Regions from separate parts of the Homo sapiens genome. Here regions 1, 3, 4, 5, 6 and 7 are each linked to region 2. Evidence: promoter capture Hi-C in 16 types of primary human blood cells and fetal thymus (Javierre and others, 2016). All regions are on one chromosome and are shown on one strand. The core of a region is centred on a gene start or on the middle of the fragment in contact, and the rest is flanking DNA. Distances in the headings are between cores, read along the strand shown.

The links. The method cuts DNA at HindIII sites, captures the fragments that hold promoters and counts their contacts. A CHiCAGO score of 5 or more calls a contact.
Region 1: a contact is called between a fragment that was not itself captured here and the fragment with the promoter of MAP4K3 in region 2, in 1 of 17 cell types (total B cells). The highest score is 5.0, in total B cells.
Region 3: a contact is called between a fragment that was not itself captured here and the fragment with the promoter of MAP4K3 in region 2, in 1 of 17 cell types (total B cells). The highest score is 5.1, in total B cells.
Region 4: a contact is called between a fragment that was not itself captured here and the fragment with the promoter of MAP4K3 in region 2, in 5 of 17 cell types (erythroblasts, total B cells, naive B cells and 2 more). The highest score is 7.8, in erythroblasts.
Region 5: a fragment that was not itself captured here is called in contact with the fragment with the promoter of MAP4K3 in region 2 in 5 of 17 cell types (erythroblasts, naive B cells, total B cells and 2 more); the score reaches 8.1 in erythroblasts.
Region 6: a contact is called between a fragment that was not itself captured here and the fragment with the promoter of MAP4K3 in region 2, in 1 of 17 cell types (naive B cells). The highest score is 5.9, in naive B cells.
Region 7: a fragment that was not itself captured here is called in contact with the fragment with the promoter of MAP4K3 in region 2 in 8 of 17 cell types (M2 macrophages, naive B cells, total B cells and 5 more); the score reaches 15.7 in M2 macrophages.

The regions. Positions count from the first base shown.
Region 1 is chr2:39,785,112-39,787,811 of GRCh38, reverse strand. No RefSeq gene overlaps it. Among named protein-coding and RNA genes, the nearest start is that of THUMPD2, 7.2 kb to the right of the region's middle. The HindIII fragment of the contact is 5,862 bases long and covers 1-2,700 here.
Region 2 is chr2:39,435,942-39,438,641 of GRCh38, reverse strand. MAP4K3 (mitogen-activated protein kinase kinase kinase kinase 3) reads left to right here and starts at 1,357. Exons shown (of 34, transcript NM_003618.4): 1 at 1,357-1,750. The coding sequence starts at 1,655. MAP4K3-DT (MAP4K3 divergent transcript) reads right to left here and starts at 1,226. Exons shown (of 6, transcript NR_037875.1): 1 at 1,107-1,226. RefSeq lists silencers at 1,104-1,323, 1,394-1,753 and an enhancer at 2,084-2,163. The HindIII fragment of the contact is 5,405 bases long and covers 381-2,700 here.
Region 3 is chr2:39,116,343-39,119,042 of GRCh38, reverse strand. All of the region lies in intron 1 of SOS1 (SOS Ras/Rac guanine nucleotide exchange factor 1), which reads left to right. Among named protein-coding and RNA genes, the nearest start is that of SOS1, 3.4 kb to the left of the region's middle. The HindIII fragment of the contact is 3,710 bases long and covers 1-2,700 here.
Region 4 is chr2:39,747,827-39,750,526 of GRCh38, reverse strand. The region is part of intron 8 of THUMPD2 (THUMP domain 2 tRNA and snRNA guanosine methyltransferase); the gene reads left to right. The region is part of intron 2 of LOC124905994 (a long non-coding RNA gene); the gene reads right to left. Among named protein-coding and RNA genes, the nearest start is that of THUMPD2, 30 kb to the left of the region's middle. The HindIII fragment of the contact is 3,634 bases long and covers 1-2,700 here.
Region 5 is chr2:39,766,824-39,769,523 of GRCh38, reverse strand. THUMPD2 (THUMP domain 2 tRNA and snRNA guanosine methyltransferase) reads left to right here. Exons shown (of 10, transcript NM_025264.5): 4 at 1,023-1,100. Among named protein-coding and RNA genes, the nearest start is that of THUMPD2, 11 kb to the left of the region's middle. The HindIII fragment of the contact is 4,113 bases long and covers 1-2,700 here.
Region 6 is chr2:39,053,922-39,056,621 of GRCh38, reverse strand. It overlaps SOS1 (SOS Ras/Rac guanine nucleotide exchange factor 1), which reads left to right. Exons shown (of 23, transcript NM_005633.4): 5 at 1,799-2,008. Among named protein-coding and RNA genes, the nearest start is that of SOS1, 66 kb to the left of the region's middle. The HindIII fragment of the contact is 924 bases long and covers 835-1,758 here.
Region 7 is chr2:39,727,155-39,729,972 of GRCh38, reverse strand. It overlaps a transcript of TMEM178A not described here. Among named protein-coding and RNA genes, the nearest start is that of THUMPD2, 51 kb to the left of the region's middle. The HindIII fragment of the contact is 4,148 bases long and covers 1-2,818 here.

The sequences.
Region 1 (2,700 bases), core at 125-2,624, 350 kb before region 2:
TTTTGTTAAAATCTAAGACACAATCACATACATCAGCCTAGACCTACACAGTGTCAGGATCATCAAAGTCACTGTCTTTCACCTCCTTATCTCTACCCACTGGGAGGTATTCAGGGGCAATAACACACACAGAGCAGTCATCTTCTATGATAATCTCTTCTTCTAGAATACCTGCTAAAGGACCCATCTGAGGCTGTTTTACAGTTAACTTTTTCTTTATAAGCAGAAGCAGTATACTCTAAAATAATGATTTAAAAATACAGCATAATAAATACATATGCCAGTAACATAGTCATTTATTATCATTATCAAATATTATGTACTGTACATAATTGTATGGGCTATACTTCTTTATGACTGGCAATGCAGTCTGTGTAGGTTTGTTTATACCTGCATAATATCATAGCACAACACGTTACTCATATGTTTGTAACATGTTGTAACAAACATATGAGTGATATGAGTGACATGTTGTGCTATGAAGTTATGACAGCTATGATGTCATTAGGCAATAGGGATTTTTCAGCTCCATAATGATCTCACAGTACCACCATCATATATGCAGTTGATCATTGACCAAAACATCTTTATGCAGTACATGACTCTGCTTGACATAACTGGGCTATACAATTAAAACATATGGATGTCAAATATATCTGAGATTGTTTGGATTAACAATAATTTCCAATATTTGTTATAGACTTCTGTGTCTTAGGACTTTATTTACTAGATGATGCTCAGTAGCAAAGTTGTCTTCCAGGAAATCCATCTTTCCAAAACCGTAGCGGGCTGTGCTCAACCCACAGACAAGAAGCCTTGGGGTTTTGTAACAGCACTTCTCTCCCTCCCAGTACACACACTCTTTCACAAATTTAGGAAGTCGTTATTTAAAGAAGCTCACCACCACTGTTAAAAAGAAAGCTGCCAACTTAAGAGTGTGTGTGCCCAGCCCAAAAACTCTGGAAAACCTACACTGTAACCTGCATCTAACGTAGACAGCCAATACAACATTCAACGCAATCTACGTACAATGTCCAGATAACAGATTCAATCAATTCTGATTAACACAATTAATCAATGTGCTAGTACAAAATATTTTTTTTTTGAGATGGAGTCTCACTCTGTTGCCCAGGCTGGAGTGCAGTGGAGAGATCTAGGCTCACTGCAGCCTCCACCTCCCGGGTTCAAGCAATTCTGTCTCAGCTTCCTGAGTAGGTGGGATTATAGGCATGCACTACAATGCCCCACTAATTTTTGTATCTTTAGTAGAGACTGGGTTTTACCACGTTGGCCAGGCTAGTCTCGAACTCCTGACCTCAGGTGATCCACACGCCTCAGCCTCCCAAAGTGCTGGAAAACCTATAAGAAATCACAAAATATAAAATTGAGACTATAAGGCCCAACCCCTGATTATAATCCCCATTAATTAACCTGCCCTGAGTTGGCCCAAGATTGCATTGTCCACACCTATCAACAATAAGTAATAAGCACTTAAGCATTAGAGGTTTGATTTATAGAAAATCTATTGTCAGTGAGGAATAAATTCAGCCAAACTCAGATGTCAACTGGATTATCTTGATTTAAAATTGGTTTGCACCCGCATTCTATGGCAATGATGACCCAGCACCCCTCTCTGTGCATTCCCTGATGACAGACCACATGCTTAGGTGCCCCTTACCAGCCTGTGCTCTGACTTCCTGCTTCTCCTGAATGTACTCCATTGAAAGACCTCCACAACCCATGCAGAGGATGCCACTCCTTTTCCTTATCACAGCACCTTACTTTGAGTGCATCACCCTGGTACTTTCACTCCTACTATTTGAAGCAAATGGCTGTGTTTTGTTTGTTTATTTTACTGAAAGTTTGGACCACTAAAGATGGTTTAACCTGGCAGTGCCAGAAACAAATTTGAGCACTGAACATCCTTCTTAGAAGTTCTCAGCCAACACCCCACAGCGAGTCTCTTACGGCCAGCTCATCCTCACTGGTCTCAGCTTTGCACGATGCTGTTCCACAGGTTCCCCATTATCTGATCTTTCCCCCCCGTTAGGGTATTTCCTACCTCCTTTTGACTTCTTACGCAGAACAGTTTAATTATCTCTGTATTTCTCTGTTTATGACTTCAGAGCCTCACTAAACTCCATCAAAAAATTTTCGTAAACAGACTATTTTGTACCTAAGATGAATTCCAGGACCAGCTTTTAAAATTATTTTTCTTAACCTGGCTACATTTCGATTTCGAAGTTTATGAGACAGAAGTTCCATATCATCTAAACTGATCAGAGAGACAGAGCACCAAAGCCATACATAGTGATTGAAGGTGCAAATATTGTTACCTGTCTGTGATCTGAAAGCTCAACTGGCATCAAATAATTTCAGGCATTATGTCTTATTTCAAAGATGTTTTACGAGAGAATGAAATGATTGCCTAAGCCAGTGCTTCAGGTTGTATGCTTTTGTTTTGTATCTGTATTGTTTTTCTGTTTAGCCAAGTAATTCATACTCATTGCAAAAATTGTAACATTAAATATGAATATAAATAGTAAATTTTTAATTATTAGATTTCAGACTTTTTAAAAGAAAATCATTAGAGGATAGGCCTGATTATGTGTAGATATAACAGAGAACACTTTTTCAACGGTGCTAAAATCCATTTTTCAAAATCATGCAAGATATCCATGGGCAGCAAGTAATTATCAC
Region 2 (2,700 bases), core at 108-2,607:
CATCAATTTAGTCAACAGATACTCAAAGTAAACAATTTGAGAATTTAGTACATATGCAATTTTCCTATGAGCAAAAGGATTCAAAAGATTTTTTGAAAAAGTATGAAGCAGTTAACTCTAAGTAGTTTGCTCTACTATTAATTTATTATACTTATCCTTAACAGGTTTGATGAGACCTAGTTTCTCAGGAGCCACGAGGTATTAGGGAATATTAGTGGTTAGAAGGTGTGGTGCCTAAGGGGATTAGGAAAGCATTTCTGAAGCAAAACTCCAACGTGGTATTGCCAAAGTGGCCATCACCTAATTGATTAAAGCTCCTGCAAATGTCTATTGGGAAGTTCAATGAGAACAGAAAAATAACCTTCCATTACCCTCAAGCTTTCTTGGGCAAGTATTAACAATCGGAGCTGGAGTCCACATAGCTCAGATGTAAGACGCGCAATCTGGGTCTTAAGCAGGGTGGGGTTTTTGGGTAGGTAAGGTCACAGCTAAAGAGCTTCCGGATCGTCACGTGTTTATATTTCAGGTGCGGTAATAGATCTAGTCCACTCTCCACCCCTTCTTTACAGGGTTGCTTGACAGCCTGCGCAGTCCCCGCCCGTCTTTGATAATCCAACCCTCTTCGAAGAGGGAGGTCAATCACTGCTTTAGTTCTGCGCTCTGCCTGCCTCCCACGCGGGATGGTGGGCAGCTGTTCCGCGTGTTTTCCTCCCGGAGCTTTCACGCTCTGCCCACTGCACACACCTCCCTCGCGGCCCTCCTGGCCTGCCCTCCTTTGCACCCTGGCAGGCCAACTCCAAGGGTCCGAGTGTCGGTGACAGGGGCAAGCAAGCACAGCTCACTTTTCCTGGGGGTTTTCCTCACGGTGTGTTTAGTGACCCCTCCCCGCAATCCCAGAAAGGCTGCAGCACTCCATGGTATCCTACATGTAGCTGCTTCTAAAATAATAAAGGCTGGGACATTGGCTGTCTTGGATATTACCACTATGCTACCTGCTTGGAACTGGGACCAGATAGACCAAGGTCCAACTTTGTCGTTAGGGGAATCAGAAACGAAAAGAAGCCACTTTCTGCTAGTCCTAACCCCGGTCCCTGGGCCAGGCAAACCTTTTCAAGCGTCCGGCGGCAGCGGCCGGGCGCGGGTCCGCAGAAAAGCCGAGGCGTTTCGGGTCCCAAGCTGTTCCGCCGCCGGCCCCGGCCTGGCAGGCGCGCGGAGCCGGAACGCGCAAGGGGTCGGGTGCGCGCCAGGCCTGGCGCGCTCCCTCCGGGATCGCGGCTGCGCAGTCGGGCGGGAGTCGGGAAAAGGGGAGGAGGTTGGAGGAGCCGGAGTAAGGGGAGGGGGAGGAGCGGCGAAAGCGGAAGCCATGTTGGAGTTTCACCCCGAGCGAGGGGCTGCGAGGGTTCTCCTCTCCTTGTGGGTGTGACCAGGTTCGGCGCGGCGGCGGGCCGCGGGGGGCGGGGACGATTGGCCGCTTGTCGTCGTCCGCAGCGGCGTGAGGGGAGCGGCGGCGGCGGCGGCGGCCGCAGCGTGGAGCCGGGTGATTGTGACCGCCGGGGGAGCCGGGAGCCGGCCGCGGCGCCCTCTCTCCGTGTGGCCCCCTGAGCGGCCCCCCTCCCCTGCCCGGGAGGGAGGCGGGGGGCACCTGGGGCCCGCCATGAACCCCGGCTTCGATTTGTCCCGCCGGAACCCGCAGGAGGACTTCGAGCTGATTCAGCGCATCGGCAGCGGCACCTACGGCGACGTCTACAAGGTAAAGGCAGGGGCCGCGCGCCGCCGAGGCCGTGGGATCCCGACCCGCAGCCAAGCCTGGGCGTCCGAGCCCTTGCCGCCTGTCCTCGGGAGACGCTGGCGCCAGGGAGCAGTCGGGGAGGAGGAGCTGCGGACGCCAAGGGCTCTGCTGCCTTGGTGAACAAAGGGCCGAATGTTTAACCCCGAGACCTCCCCAGCCCTTACCTGAGCCCCCCCGGTGGACATGATTTTTGCCACCTCCCTTCTTGCGCGCATTTCCAGGGAAGGGCAGAACGAGAGCAGGCCACACTGCTCATCCATAGTGCAGAGAAGGTCTGGGCGTTTGTTGCGTTGGCAGGGTCAGCGCGACGAACCGGACAGCAGGGGTCTGGTGTTGTCAAACCTGCCTGCTTCACGCCAACCTGGGGTCGTCCGCTCTAGGTTGGGAGCTGCTGCCCACCAGGCCTCGGTGGTAGTTATTATACTATGCTGAGCGACCTCCATCTTCCATCGACAGCTCTCAGCCTTTAGCGCCTTATTCATCCCCCTGTCAGTTTCTTTTAATTTTCCAGAGTAATGACTTTTTTTTTTTTTTGGAAAGAGCAACTTTGTTTTCTCTAAGTCGAATTGGACTGCGATGCCATTTAAACTTGTTTTTTAAAAAGTGACTTGAATACTTAGGGAAGGTACTGGTTTGACAAGGTTAGAATTCAAAGTCCAGTAGCGGTACAGCATTCCTGTTGTAGAGGGACCACTTCTAAATGTGGGAAGATAAATCACTCTTCCCTGGCCAACTCAACTCTTGGCCTCACAGTTACTGCCAAGAAGAGAGGAGGTTGTTGCCAAATGTGGCAGCAGTCTTGATTTAGTTGTGTATCTTCTTACTGGTAACTGAAGTTGAACTCCTCCAGTTTCACATAACACCTGAGGATGCACAAAGAAACTTAATTTTGCATTGGAAAGTTCAGTCTT
Region 3 (2,700 bases), core at 56-2,555, 320 kb after region 2:
AGTAAGGGGAGACACGGAAATTGTTTAAAAACGTGTAAAGGAACTCATAAAGCATTGCCAAATAGGGGCCATTTTGCTTAGAGGCAAAAGCAGCTCCTTTCCCAGGGGAATCACCAAGGTATCAGCTGAGGATCCTTTGAAGCAGTGGAAAGAATATTGTAGGAGTTGACAGACGTTGTTTAATTCTGCCACACTGGTGGCCCTTGCTGAAATCTGTCCACAAAAGCATTTTGTTTGGCTGGCATAGTGTTGTTTTATTTTTAAATGTAATTAGTTGCTAATATTTGAAAATGGGAGATATTACATAAAACCTGAATTTTCGGCTTTTCTTGAAGAATAGGAAGGTCTTGTCATTTAGGGCCTGTATTCAAGCGAGGCACTAAACTGCTGGAGTTGAGTAAATGGCTCCCTTCTTTAGACAGGTCATGTATCTCCACCTTACCACAGCCCCCACTTGTCCTTTTTGCATATTTACATAAAACAGCTTTTGACTTTAAGTTAGAGATACTTTTGCAGTAGAAGTGATAGGAGGAGGTGGAAGTGTACATAATCTAGCTGATATGTAAGGTTCTTCCAATTCTTATTTAAATAGCCACTAACAATGATTCTAAACAAGATTGAAAATACAGTATGTTTCATATCTGGATATGCTGTTGGTAGCTCAAAACCTACGTTTTTACTTGCCTGCTGGACATTTCATGTGGATATCTCCATATCTTGATTTCTTCCTTTGATTTGTTATTGAATTATTCGTAGATACATCCGACTTGTGTTCTCTTACTCTTACCTGAGGCTCTTTGGATATGCTAGTCCCTTCATCCTTCTTTGCCTGGTCCAACACTACTCATCCTTCTAGACTCACTCAACCTGAACTGTCAAATCATCAGGGCTGAGTTGGATATTACTCCTTTGTTTTCTTTTTGCACCCTGTCCTAGCTCTGTGAATTTTAAGTTCCTATTTACTTGCCTATAACTAGATTGGATGCTCCTTGAGAACAGGGATGATATCTTACCCACATTTTATTCCCCATACTTATAGTGCTTGACATCTGGTAGGCACTCAATTTGAATAAATAGGTGAGGGGATATACAAACTAAAACTATCACTTCTCTCCTCCACCTGTCATTTCAGTTTTTCTTCTCGATTAATGGCTTTATTGTTACATTTGACTGGTTTAAAATGTTGGGGTCATCTCTGGCTTCTTTGTATTACTGTGCACACTCAGGTAGAGCCTGTATGTTCATTTCCCTTTGACATGTTCTTCTAGTCTATTCCTCCTCCGACTTCTCTAATTGAGTCTCCTTTGTCAGACTACTGTGATAACTTCTTAATGGGGTTCACTGGCCCCCACCTCACCTTCTGTTTTTCAAATCTCACCAGTTATAGGACACTTCTGAACATGTCACACTCAGAATTGTTGATGTCTTTTGAGTTCAACCTATGCTAAAGTGCACTTTTTAGCATAGAATTAACAGCAATTGATATTTGGCTTCATCCTGCTTTTCTGACTGGATTGTCTACCATAACCTTTTATCTCCTTTTTGCTTTAGCCAGTCCGGACTGCTACTTTTCCTGAATATGGCTGGAATGTCCCACTGTATCTGTTTCACCGCATCTATGAGTCTAAGTCCTATCTTATCTATTGCACAAATATATCATGCCTACTATAGACCAGGTATTGCCCTTGACACTCAGGCTAAAAAGGTAAATGACAGGGCCGGGCGCAGTGGCTCACGCCTGTAATCCAGCACTTTGGGAGAGCAAGGTGGGCGGATCACGAGGTCAGGAATTCAAGACCAGCCTGGCCAACGTGGTGAAACCCCATCTCTACTAAAAAATACAAAAATTAGCCTGGCGTGGTGGTGGGCACCTGTAATCCCAGCTACTCGGGAGGCTGAGGCAGGAGAATAGCTTGAAACCGGAAGACGGAGGTTGCAGTGGGGCGAGATTGCACCACTGCACTCCAACCTGGGCAACAAGAGCAAAACTCTGTCTCAAAAAAAAAAAAAAAAAGTAAATGACATAATCAGAAAAGACTAAATTAGAACATGATGGGAAGTGGCAGGGCATGTCTGGAGAGACAACTGGTTTATGAACAGTTTTTATATATGTTAAGCTAAGGAATTTAAATTTTTTCTTGGGTAATTAGAAGCCATTGATAAAGTTTCTTTTGTTTGTTTTTGTTTTGTTTGTTTGTTTTGAGACAGAGTCTTAACAGGCTGGAGTGCAGTGGTGCGATCTTGGCTCACTGCAGCCTCCACCTCCTGGGCTTAAGCTATCCTCCCACCTCAGCCTCCTGAGACTGTAGGCACACTGCCACATCCAGATAATTTTTGTATTTTTTGTAGAGATGGGGTTTCACCAGGCTGGTCTTGAACTCCTGGGCTCAAGCCATCTGCCTGCCTCAGCTTCCCAAAGTGCTAGGATTACAGGGTGAGCCACTGTGCCCAGCCAATAAGTTTTAAGTAGGGGAGTAACAGCACATTTTAATTTTAGAAAATTCACTTTGGCCATAGAATGGAAAATGGTTTGGAGAAGAATGAGACGTAAAGTGAGGAGAAAAGTTAGAAGCCTAGTTTAATAGTCCAGTCAAGAGATAATACACATTTGAACTAAGGGTGCATTTGAACAAGGATGGAAATATGGATGTGGATTTTATTTGAAAGAAGTTTACAAGGCAAAATTGACAGGATCTAGTA
Region 4 (2,700 bases), core at 84-2,583, 310 kb before region 2:
CCATGTTGCCCAGGCTGGTCGCAAACTCCTGAGCTCAGGCAATCCACCCGCCTTGGCCTAACAAATTTATAAGAAAAAAACAACCCCATTAAAAAGTGAGCAAAAGACATGAGCAGATACTTCTCAAAAGAAGACATTCATATGGCCAACTAACATACAAAGAAAAGCTCAACATCACTGATCATTAGAGAAATGCGAATCAAAACCACAATGGGAAACCATCTCATGCCAGTCAGAATGGCGATTATTAAAAAGTCCAGAAACAACAGATGGTGGTGAGGTTGTGGATAAAAGGGAACGCCTTTACACCGTTGGTGGGAGTGTAAATGACTTCAACCGTTGGGAAGACAGTGTGGTGATTCCTCAAAGATCCGGAGGCAGAAATACCATTTGACCCAGCAATTCCATTACAGTGCATATATCCAAAGGAATGTAAATCATTCTAGAATAAAGATACATGCACACATATGTTCACTTGAGCACTATTCATGATAGCAAAGACACAGAGTCAACCCAAATGCCCATCAGTGACAGACTGGATAAAGAAAATATAGTACATATATACCGTAAAATACTGTGTAAACATAAAAAGGAACAAGATAATGTCCTTTGCAGGGACATGGATGGTGCTTGAAGCTGTTATCCTCAGCAAACTAACGCAGGAACAGAAAACCAAACACTGCATGTTTTCACTTATAAGTGGGAGCTAAACGATGAGAACACGTGGTTGGGGGACAACACACACAGGGGTCTGTCAGGGGGAGGTGGGAGGGGAGGGAGAGCATTAGGAAGAATAGCTAATGGATGCTGGTCTTATTACCAAGGTGGTGGGTTGATCTGTAGCAAACCACCACGGTACACACATTATGTAGCAAACCCATACATCCTGCACATATACCCTGGAACTTAAAAGTTGAAGGAAAAAAAATAAAAACTTAGTAATTCTAAGAATGCTAGGCCCAAAGCCAACAATTTATCACATGCAACTGAAGAAAATGCATTTAAAATATCACTCTGTGAAGTATGACTTTCCCTTTAGATCAAATGGCTATTCTAAATTTATTTTGCTCATATTCAATTGTGAGTTTTGTTATGCACCTAAGCAAAATGAAGCTGGTACTGTTAATGTGCTGGCTTCATTAGCAGAAGACCTTTGCAGATAGTTAAATGTTGCCAGTTTTGTATCAATATCATCACATAATTTAGAAAGATAATCAGTTAAGTCAATTCCAGTAGTAGCTTTGTTTCTTTTTTACTCTCTTCGAAATTTCATAGGGTTTTTTTCTGTCAAAGATGCAACTTCTTTGTGAATGCTACTGTGAATTCAGTTTGGCATTGCCAATCTGTGTGCTTATGCATTACTTTGGTGGGCCACAACATCATGCTAAAAATTAATATTCTTATTAAAACCTATGGAGCAGAAATGCACTTGAAATTTAATGTTATACCCATATAATTCATAATTACCTCCAAACAGGCTGTAGTGTCCATTGAAACAGACACTTGTCAAAATAATTGAATTTTGTTTTGTTTTTTTTTTTAAGAGAGAGACTTGCTCTGTCACCCAGGCTAGAGTGTAGTGGTCTGATAATAGCTTACTGCAGCCTTGAACGAACTCCTGGGCTCAAGCAGTCCTCCCATCTCAGCTTCCCAAGTAGCTAGGACTGTAGGAGGTACTCACCACCATGCCTGGCTAATTTTCTTTTTTAAAAAAATAGAGATGGGGTCTCACTGTATTGCCCAGGTTGGTCTTAAATGATCCTCCCAGCTCAGCCTCCCGGAGTGCTGGGATTACAGGTGTGAGCCACCCCATACCTGGCCACTTTTTTTGTTTTTTTTTGAGACAGACTCTCACTCTGTCGCCAGGCTGGAGTGCAGTGGCGCAATTTCGGCTCACTGCAACCTCCGCCTCCTGGGTTCAAGCAATTCTCCCGCTTCAGCCTCCTGAGTAGCTGGGACTACAGGCGCATGCTACCACGCCCAGCTAATTTTTGTATGGGGTTTCACCATGTTGGCCAGGATGGTCTCAATCTCTTGACCTCATGATCCACCTGCCTTGGCCTCCCAAAGTGCTGGGATTACAGGCGTGAACCACCGTACCCGGCCTTCTTTTTAAAATATACACAGAACAGATGAACTGCAAACTATTTGTGTTGAAGATGACTGAATGCAAAAAAAATGCTTCTGCATAACAGTACACTTTCTTTGCTTGTCCATCAGTTGGGTTTTAAAGTGTAAGCCTTCAAAGAATTACTCTGTAAATCAGCCAAAGTGTCCTAGGGTGGTGCTATAAACTTTACCAAAAAAAAGTTGCCTAATTTTGATGGCATTTTATTCAGAATATACTGGAAATCTATAATCAAAGGATTCAACAAATGAAGTGCCAAAATACATTAGCTTTTGAATTTTTTGGTGAATTACAGTTGTTAAAGCTGGCAGCAGGAAGACATTGATCATCTTTCCCTAAAAACACGAAGAAATGAACAAATATTGAAAGCTCAACAATGCACAAGACTTAATTATGAAATTCTATAAATATTCTTTGGATATGGTATGGAAAGAATCTCCTGATGACTTTCCTTATTGTAATTGGATAAATTTGTAGTCTAGAATGGAATGGAATGAAATTGTGAAGGCCTTAATTTTGTATCATCTAAATTTGGTAAAACAATTAAAAGAATAATAGAGATAATTTGAGTT
Region 5 (2,700 bases), core at 178-2,677, 330 kb before region 2:
CACCATATTGGTCAGGCTGGTCTGGAACTCCTGACCTCAAGTGATCCAACCACCTCGGCCTCCCAAAGTGCTGGGATTACAGGCGGGAGCCACCATGCCTGGCCTGGGGGTCCCATTTTTTAAAGAATTAATTATTCTTTAGATTTAAAATGAGATGCAAACCTCTCACAGAACAAATAACTAGCCGCAGACAATTAGTTCTTATGGAATTAAATGTCTTTAAAACTACATTTTCCTTTTAATTTTTCCTCAGATGTTTAAGAGGAATGGTATGCCATTCCAAGTAATGACTTTCTTATACTTTCTGCCTAAAAATTTCCTTAAATCTACAGATGTCCTTTGTATTTGGAAATCCTGATACCATAGTCCTCAGCTTTTGGGGTTTCTCTTCAGTTCAGCTTTGTGCTTATTCAGTGGCTACTCTGCACAGGTCCTGTACATGGGATTGTCACCAGGACCTAGACTGCAAATGCACATGAGGTCTCAGCAATGTAGAGAAGAGCGAACACCACAAACTGTTGCCATCACCAGACCTCATCAGTTGGCCCTTACAAAGTTCAGTGATGTTAAAGGCCATTGGTCTGAATACTTTATCAACCTTAAAATCAGTCAAACCCTAAAGGGTGAGTCTAATGATACTAATCTGATAATTTTTAAACACATAGGCTTATAGTAGCTGACATAGTTAATCTTTCAGCTTGCATCTATTTCCTGAAACCCAGAATGATCATATTTATCAGGTCATAATCTAGTTATTTCATATACCTAAAATTACAAGGATAGAGATTATGCATGAGTAGACATTAATGCCATGGGGTGTACTGGGGGCTAGGGCAGGTAAAATACAGCCTTACTGCCTTGAATAGGAAATGCTTTCATGTACAATTTTAATATCAGAACTCTAAATTACCATCAGATAGCCTGACTTGATTTTCTTATAGGCTACTCTGTTAGTTTTGCTGACATTTAAACTTAAAATTTTCATTTTTAGTATTCTTTTCTTTAACTTGGTACTTTTCCAGGAGGTAGGAAAAGTAATTGGAATTGCTATTATGAAACACTTTGGATGGAAAGCAGACTTGAGGAATCCACAATTAGAGGTAATGAGTATTTGTTTTATTTTATATACTTGTAACCTAATTCTTTAAAGACAGTGTCCTGTATTCTTATCATACTTTTCCGTTTTATTTTACAGTTATAAAAAGTGTATCTACAGGGATCCAACAGTCCATTTTATCTTTAGCAGTAGAATAGTACAGATAGTTTTGCTAGCAGTTTTCACTGAGAAAATGTCTTATGCAAACTCCAAAAAAAGATTTTTTGGAATGGAGTTGTCTGGTCACAGTTGAAGAAAAAAACATTTATTATGAGGTTACAGCGATGTTCTCTATAGTCTCTATAATACACACAATCTGTGATTTTAAAAATTTTAGCTAATATTAAAAAAATGGATAACAACAAAGTCCTACACAAAATTCAATAGTATGTTAATAGTGGCTTTGTTATGGGTATGGGATTATGTTTTTATTTTCCAAAATTAATAAGGTTACAGTATTTTTATTTGGAACAAACAAGTATTTGTATGGGGAAACAAAAAATATTCTTTGCTATTTTTTGAAAGCCATCTTATAAAGTTGACGTATAACCAATCATTTTCATGATTCATTAATTCATAAATTTATTTATTACTTGTTATGTAGGTTTAAATGGAGTAATAACTGGCCAAATAAATCAGAACATTGTGTGTTGTTTTATTTTTAGATTTGCGCTTGTCTGACATTTGTCACTTTAAAAAAATAATACCTGGTATATATTTTTTATTGTTTGTCATACTAAATGTTTTGATCCCAAGAATGTTTTGACATACGAGTATCATTCTCTTATCTGCCCCTTTCCAATTCTTTTTTTTTTTTTTTTTTTGAGACGGAGTCTCGCTCTGTCGCCCAGGCTGGAGTGCAGTGGCGGGATCTCGGCTCACTGCAAGCTCCGCCTCCCGGGTTCACGCCATTCTCCTGCCTCAGCCTCCCAAGTAGCTGGGACTACAGGCGCCCGCCACTACGCCCGGCTAATTTTTTGTATTTTTAGTAGAGACGGGGTTTCACCGTTTTAGCCGGGATGGTCTCGATCTCCTGACCTCGTGATCCGCCCGCCTCGGCCTCCCAAAGTGCTGGGATTACAGGCGTGAGCCACCGCGCCCGGCCCCCTTTCCAATTCTTAATCATCTTCTCTCTGGCTTTCTCGTCCCCATCTCCCTGAGTCCATCTCATTGTCTCAGAATTGTTTTTCTCATAGATTATCTCATAAATAAATATAGCAAATTCAATTCCTATCAGCCATTTAATGCAATTAATAATAGCTATTATGGATACAAATAATTAACACAAAATTGGCAACACAAAAATCACACGTAGTAAAATTTGTGACTAAAAAATTGACAGAGGAATCAAATCTCAACAAATTTCCTTCTGCAAAATTGATAGGAAAACATTTATAGTGGGAGAGGCTATTCTTAATAACATTTGATATATGAACATGTCGTATCTTTAGAATAAATTGTCAATAGAAAACAATTCTAATAAATAGTTTTGCTAAAATGCATAATATGTAAAATTGGGAAGTTTAGCTGTGATGTATCAGTTAATCAGGTAATTAAATTGACCAAATGGAATCACTCCAGGTAAGTCTTTTCTTGATGAAATT
Region 6 (2,700 bases), core at 47-2,546, 380 kb after region 2:
TAAAATTGTATTATGTGTTGGGGAATATCTCCAGTAACCTAATAGTAGGGATTCAAGATACCACTTTATAGAAATAAGACATTAGATATATAATATTAAAATGTGTTTAAATATGTCATGCAGTTTTTTTCTTCTGTGCTGTTGCAACTAGGGTTAATTAGAGTAATCTCTTAATAGTTAATTTCTTTTCTTTTTTCTTTTTTTTGAGACGGAATCTCACTCTGTCGCCCAGGCTGGAGTGCAGTGGCACAGTCTTGGCTCACTGCAACCTCCGCCTCCTGGATTCAAGTGATTGTCCTGCCTCAGCCTCCTGAGTAGCTGGGATTACAGGCACACACCACCATGCCTAGCTAATTTTTTTGTATTTTTAGTAGAGACAGGGTTCCACCATGTTGGTCAGGCTGGTCTCGAACTCCTGACCGCCTTGGCCTCCCAAAGTGCTGGAATTACAGGCATGAGCCACCACACCCAGCTAGTAGTTAATTTCTTAAAATTTATTTGGATTGAAAGATTTGTAAGGTTACGGATTTACTTAAAAACAATTTTTCAAAATGTAAAACCACAAAACGATAGTTTTACTTCAGCACCTAGCTTTCTTCAGATACTACTTTGTGGTTTTACAATAATAATAATAAGAGCAAACACTTATTGAAGGTTAAGCATATATGTGGCTTATCTCCGTTGGTCCTTATGATATTCCTCTAAGGTAAGTGATCTTAGCTACATTTTATAAAAGGGAGACTGAAATTCACAGGGATAAAGAAATTGGTCCAGAATTTTCTGAGAAGTTTCAAAGCCTAGACTTGAACTCCAGGTCTCTCTGAGTCTAAAGCTTTTAGTCATTACCTAAGGATGTTCACTTTATGAAAACAACTTTGCAGAAAGGAAAATGTTTTCTGATGAAGCATTTCATTCCATTTTCCTCATTATACTCTTACTGATTTGGAATATTATTTCTGATTGCTGATTCCACTAAATTATGTTTTAGTATTTATTTGTTCTTTGAGAATGTGGCCATATAGAGTGAAAAAACCCACCTGATTTGAAGAAGAATTTCAAATGTTTGGGTATTTTTAACTGAAGACACGAATACGAAATACTTGATGCTTTTTAATGAATCAGATAAATAAAATATTTTTGAGTACCTACTACATGTTTACACAGAGAGGAGATGCAAGATAAGTATATATAAAACAAGGCTCCAGAGTTGATGAAGGTATACTTATATTCATGAAACAATCAGAAAGCACACAAGATAAAATAATATTTTATTGTGTTATAGAGATATGATGCTGTAGAAGTTCTCAAGAAGGGGAAAGATGTGTTGTAGCAAGAGTAGTAACAGTAGACTTCTTGCAGAAAATAATAGCTTATTTTGACCTATTCCCAACAAATGTAGGAAAATCGGCCGAATAGACAGCTATAAACATTTAAATATGAGATACTGAGGCCATGGAATAAAGTGATGATGGCAGGGTATAAAACAGAGAAAACCAAGTCAGGGAAATTAAAGACAGGATCTGGAAACAAATTGGAAGTAATAGGTTAACAAGAGAGACAGACAGATAAATACTAGTAGTGATAGAGAACTTGGAGGAGTGTAGTAAGTTATATCACATGTTGAATTCTGTTTTAGAGAAGCTGTGGAGGGATGCTGGCAATATATCCAAGAAGAGAAATTTGTTTGTCTGCTTTTTTATCATTTAAGAACTTTATTCAGAGAACTTAGAGCATTTCACATCAAATTCTACGAAAGCTTCATATTTTATTATACTTTTTTATATCTCTGACTGTATAGGTATTGATGGATATGTTTCATCAAGATGTAGAAGATATTAATATATTATCTTTAACTGACGAAGAGCCTTCCACCTCAGGAGAACAAACTTACTATGATTTGGTAAAAGCATTTATGGCAGAAATTCGACAATATATAAGGGAACTAAATCTAATTATAAAAGTTTTTAGAGAGCCCTTTGTCTCCAATTCAAAATTGTTTTCAGCTAATGTAAGTATCATTGTATATATGCCTCTCATTGAATGTGTTGTGAAATTTGCATGACCACTTCAAATTTGAAGTTGTACAGTTCATCATTACTAATTTGTTAATTTTTTTAAGTTGTGGGACTTAATTCATGATCACAAAGTTTTACAACAGTTTCAAGAGATTTAACATTAGAAATTAAGAGACAAAATACAAAGTAGACTGATTATGTAAGTGAAAATGAATTCACAGAATTCTCCATGTACTCCAAAGGATAAAGCTTCTTGTTTAGGTGGAAGATATGTTTGTTTGAGTCATTTGAATCATTCAACCTACACTTCATCAATGCCAACTGTATTGTCAGGTACCATGCTTGGCAGCAGGGATTCAAAGATGAATAAGAAACAGTTCTGCTGGGCACGGTGGCTCACGCCTGTAATCCCAGCACTTTGGGAGGCCGAGGCGGGCAGATCACGAGGTCAGGAGATGGAGACCATCCTGGCTAACACGGTGAAACCCCATCTCTACTAAAAATACAAAAAATTAGCCGGGCGTGGTGGCGAGCGTCTGTAATCCCAGCTACTCGGGAGGCTGAGGCAGGAGAATGGCGTGAACCTGGGAGGCGGAGCTTGCAGTGAGCCGAGATCGCGCCACTGCACTCCAGCCTGGGCGACAGAGCGAGACTCCGTCTCAGAAGAAAAAAAAAAAAAGAGTTC
Region 7 (2,818 bases), core at 271-2,770, 290 kb before region 2:
GGGAGCTGGGGACTGGAAGGAGTAAAAGAGAAATAGGGAAAAAGGTAATCCAAGGATGCACTGTTGAGCTGATCACCACTGTGAGAAGCTGGGATCTGATCCTGTAGGGCCCCTCTGAAGACCTGTATAGGATGCAACCCAGAATTGTCTGCTTAAGGAGCAAAAGAGGAGAATATCCACCAGCTCCTGTCTCCCATTGGTCAAGAGTAGGATGACTTTCAACTCCCTCCCAATTTAAGACTTCCATCGCATAGTTTAAACCCTAACTTACAGAATATCAGATGGAACTAGAGGAGGAATGGAAGCCACCCAGAAATCATGTTCTTGACATGGATGTGTTACCCTTGTCAGAAGGGGAGAGGATGAGCAGGTTTTTCTGTCAAGTATAATTGCATATTTTACATGCGAATATTGGTTGGTTGGAGGAAGTTTAAATATCAAATTAAGAACAGATATTGATGTTGGGCATCCAAAGGGTACATCAAAGTGGTGAATTATCGTATTTTCCAATGTTTGAGTCCCACCTCTCCAAGGCAGAAACCAGAACACCAGCTTTTCCGACCTATATTATAGGTAGAATGGGGGCCAGACACTGACATATGATAATTGGATTCAGATGTGAGCTATGCGGAGGAACCAGGCACCATGGAATCCACTTTCTGGGGGAGAGGCAGCAGAAGCATCTGGCCTCAGGGGCTAGCTGGGGTAGAGGACAGCATTCAGCGTTCAATATCCATGGTGCAAGCTATGGTGTGGATCCCCGGCAGGGGTGGCAGTGAATCTTTGAAACTACCATCTTGTTGTATGGTTTGGATGGTGTTCCTGGTTGTGTAGTCCCCTAGATTAATTTTCTGGCCCTATTGAGCATTCTAATTTTTTTTTAATGAATTCCTTTTCTGCCGAACAACCTAGAGTTATTCTGTTGATTGCAGCTGGGGGCGCTGTGCCACACACCAAGGTTACTGAAGCACTCTCCTGCCCTGCAGGCTCTGCACATCTCATTCTCAGTGGAGTCCCTCCAAATGTTTTGCATTTTTTCTGTTACCATATTTTCTAGTTGTCTATTTTATCAGTATTTGGCACCCCTCTCCAAAATCATTTTTAATGTTTTGGCCTCCCAAAGATTTTGAATAATACAGTCTTTGTCATCATCTGCCTAAGCCTTACATACATCTTTAGGAGAAAAGAAAAAACGTGTAGGGGTGGACTCTGTGACCAAAATGCAACAAACGATGGGTTAAAAAAAAAAAATTCATTTCTTGACTTGAAGTGAGTGACAGTGATGTAGATCGTAAGAGGTAGCAGTACTAATGATCTCGGTGTACTTTGCAGAATTAAATCATGATTTTAGTCTCTGCTAAAATATCTTTAATATTAAATGCATACAACTATAAAGTTTTTGAAAATTTATGAAAATTTGAGGATGTCAAATAAATGGAGTACTATTTTATAGCATTTTTTCCTCCTCCAGAATAGGGTACAGAGTGTGGCCCAGAAAAGAACAATTAATATTTTTTGAACTAAATTGAACTAGCTCCTGGTAGGAGAGAATAAATAAATGCCTGTAGATCTGAGAACAGTGAATCAAAGGGACACTCGGAAACCATTCAAGAAGCAGACAGCTGTCCAGGGAGACACCGACTTCCTGTGTAACCTAGAAAGCTAAGTCTCAGAGAAATGCAAATCAAAACCACAATGAGATACCATCTCACGCCAGTTAGAATGGCAATCATTAAAAAGTCAGGAAACAGATTCTGGAGAGGATGTGGAGAAATAGGAATGCTTTTACACTGTTGGTGGGAGTGTAAATTGGTTCATCCACTGTGGAAGTCAGTGTGGCGATTCCTGGAGGATCTAGAACTAGAATTACCATTTGACCCAGCAATCCCATTACTGGGTACATACCCAAAGGATTATAAATCATGCTACTATAAAGACACATGCACACATATGTTTATTGTGGCATTATTCACAATAGCAAAGACTTGGAACCAACCCAAATGTCCATCAATGATAGACTGGATTAAGAAAATGTGGCACATATACACCATGGAATACTATGCTGCCATAAAAAAGGATGAGTTCATGTCCTTTGCAGGGACATGGATGAAGCTGGAAACCATCATTCTCAGCAAACTGTCACAGGGACAGAAAACCAAACACCTCATGTTCTCAGAGATGAGAAATGAACAGTTAGATCACTTGGACACAGGGTGGGGAACATCACACACCGGGGCCTGTCGAGGGGTGGGGGGCTGGGGGAGGGATAGCATTAGGAGAATTACCTAATGCAAATGATGAGTTGATGGGTGCAGCAAACCAACATGGCACATGTATACCTACGTAACGAACCTGCACATTGTGCACATGTACCCTAGAACTTAAAGTATAATTAAAAAATAAAAAAGCTAAGTCTCAGGGATTCAAAATAAACTGAGGTTTGAGAAGAAATGCTCACTTAGATATTAAGTAAATGTGTCGGTTCAGAGAGCTATGCAAGAAAGCCCTTGGACTAAAATTAGGTGAGATGCAAAGTCTTAGAGAAATCTTGCTAATTAAGAAATCCAGGTGAGTTTTTTTAGTGCATGTTCATATTTTGCCATAGTGTTAGTAGCCTTTTCAAATCTTGTTATTTATTCATTTGTTCATTTGCTTCTTTATTTACTTAGCTACCAGGCAGTTAGTGAGTACTTGCTCCATGTCAGGTTCTGGGAATGCTCCTTGGTAAACTGGCCCTGCCTGAATGGCTGCTGTGACAGCTATCTGAAAGGGATGTGAGCAGGAGCAAGAGGATACCAGCCAGAAGTCCGGGCTTCTG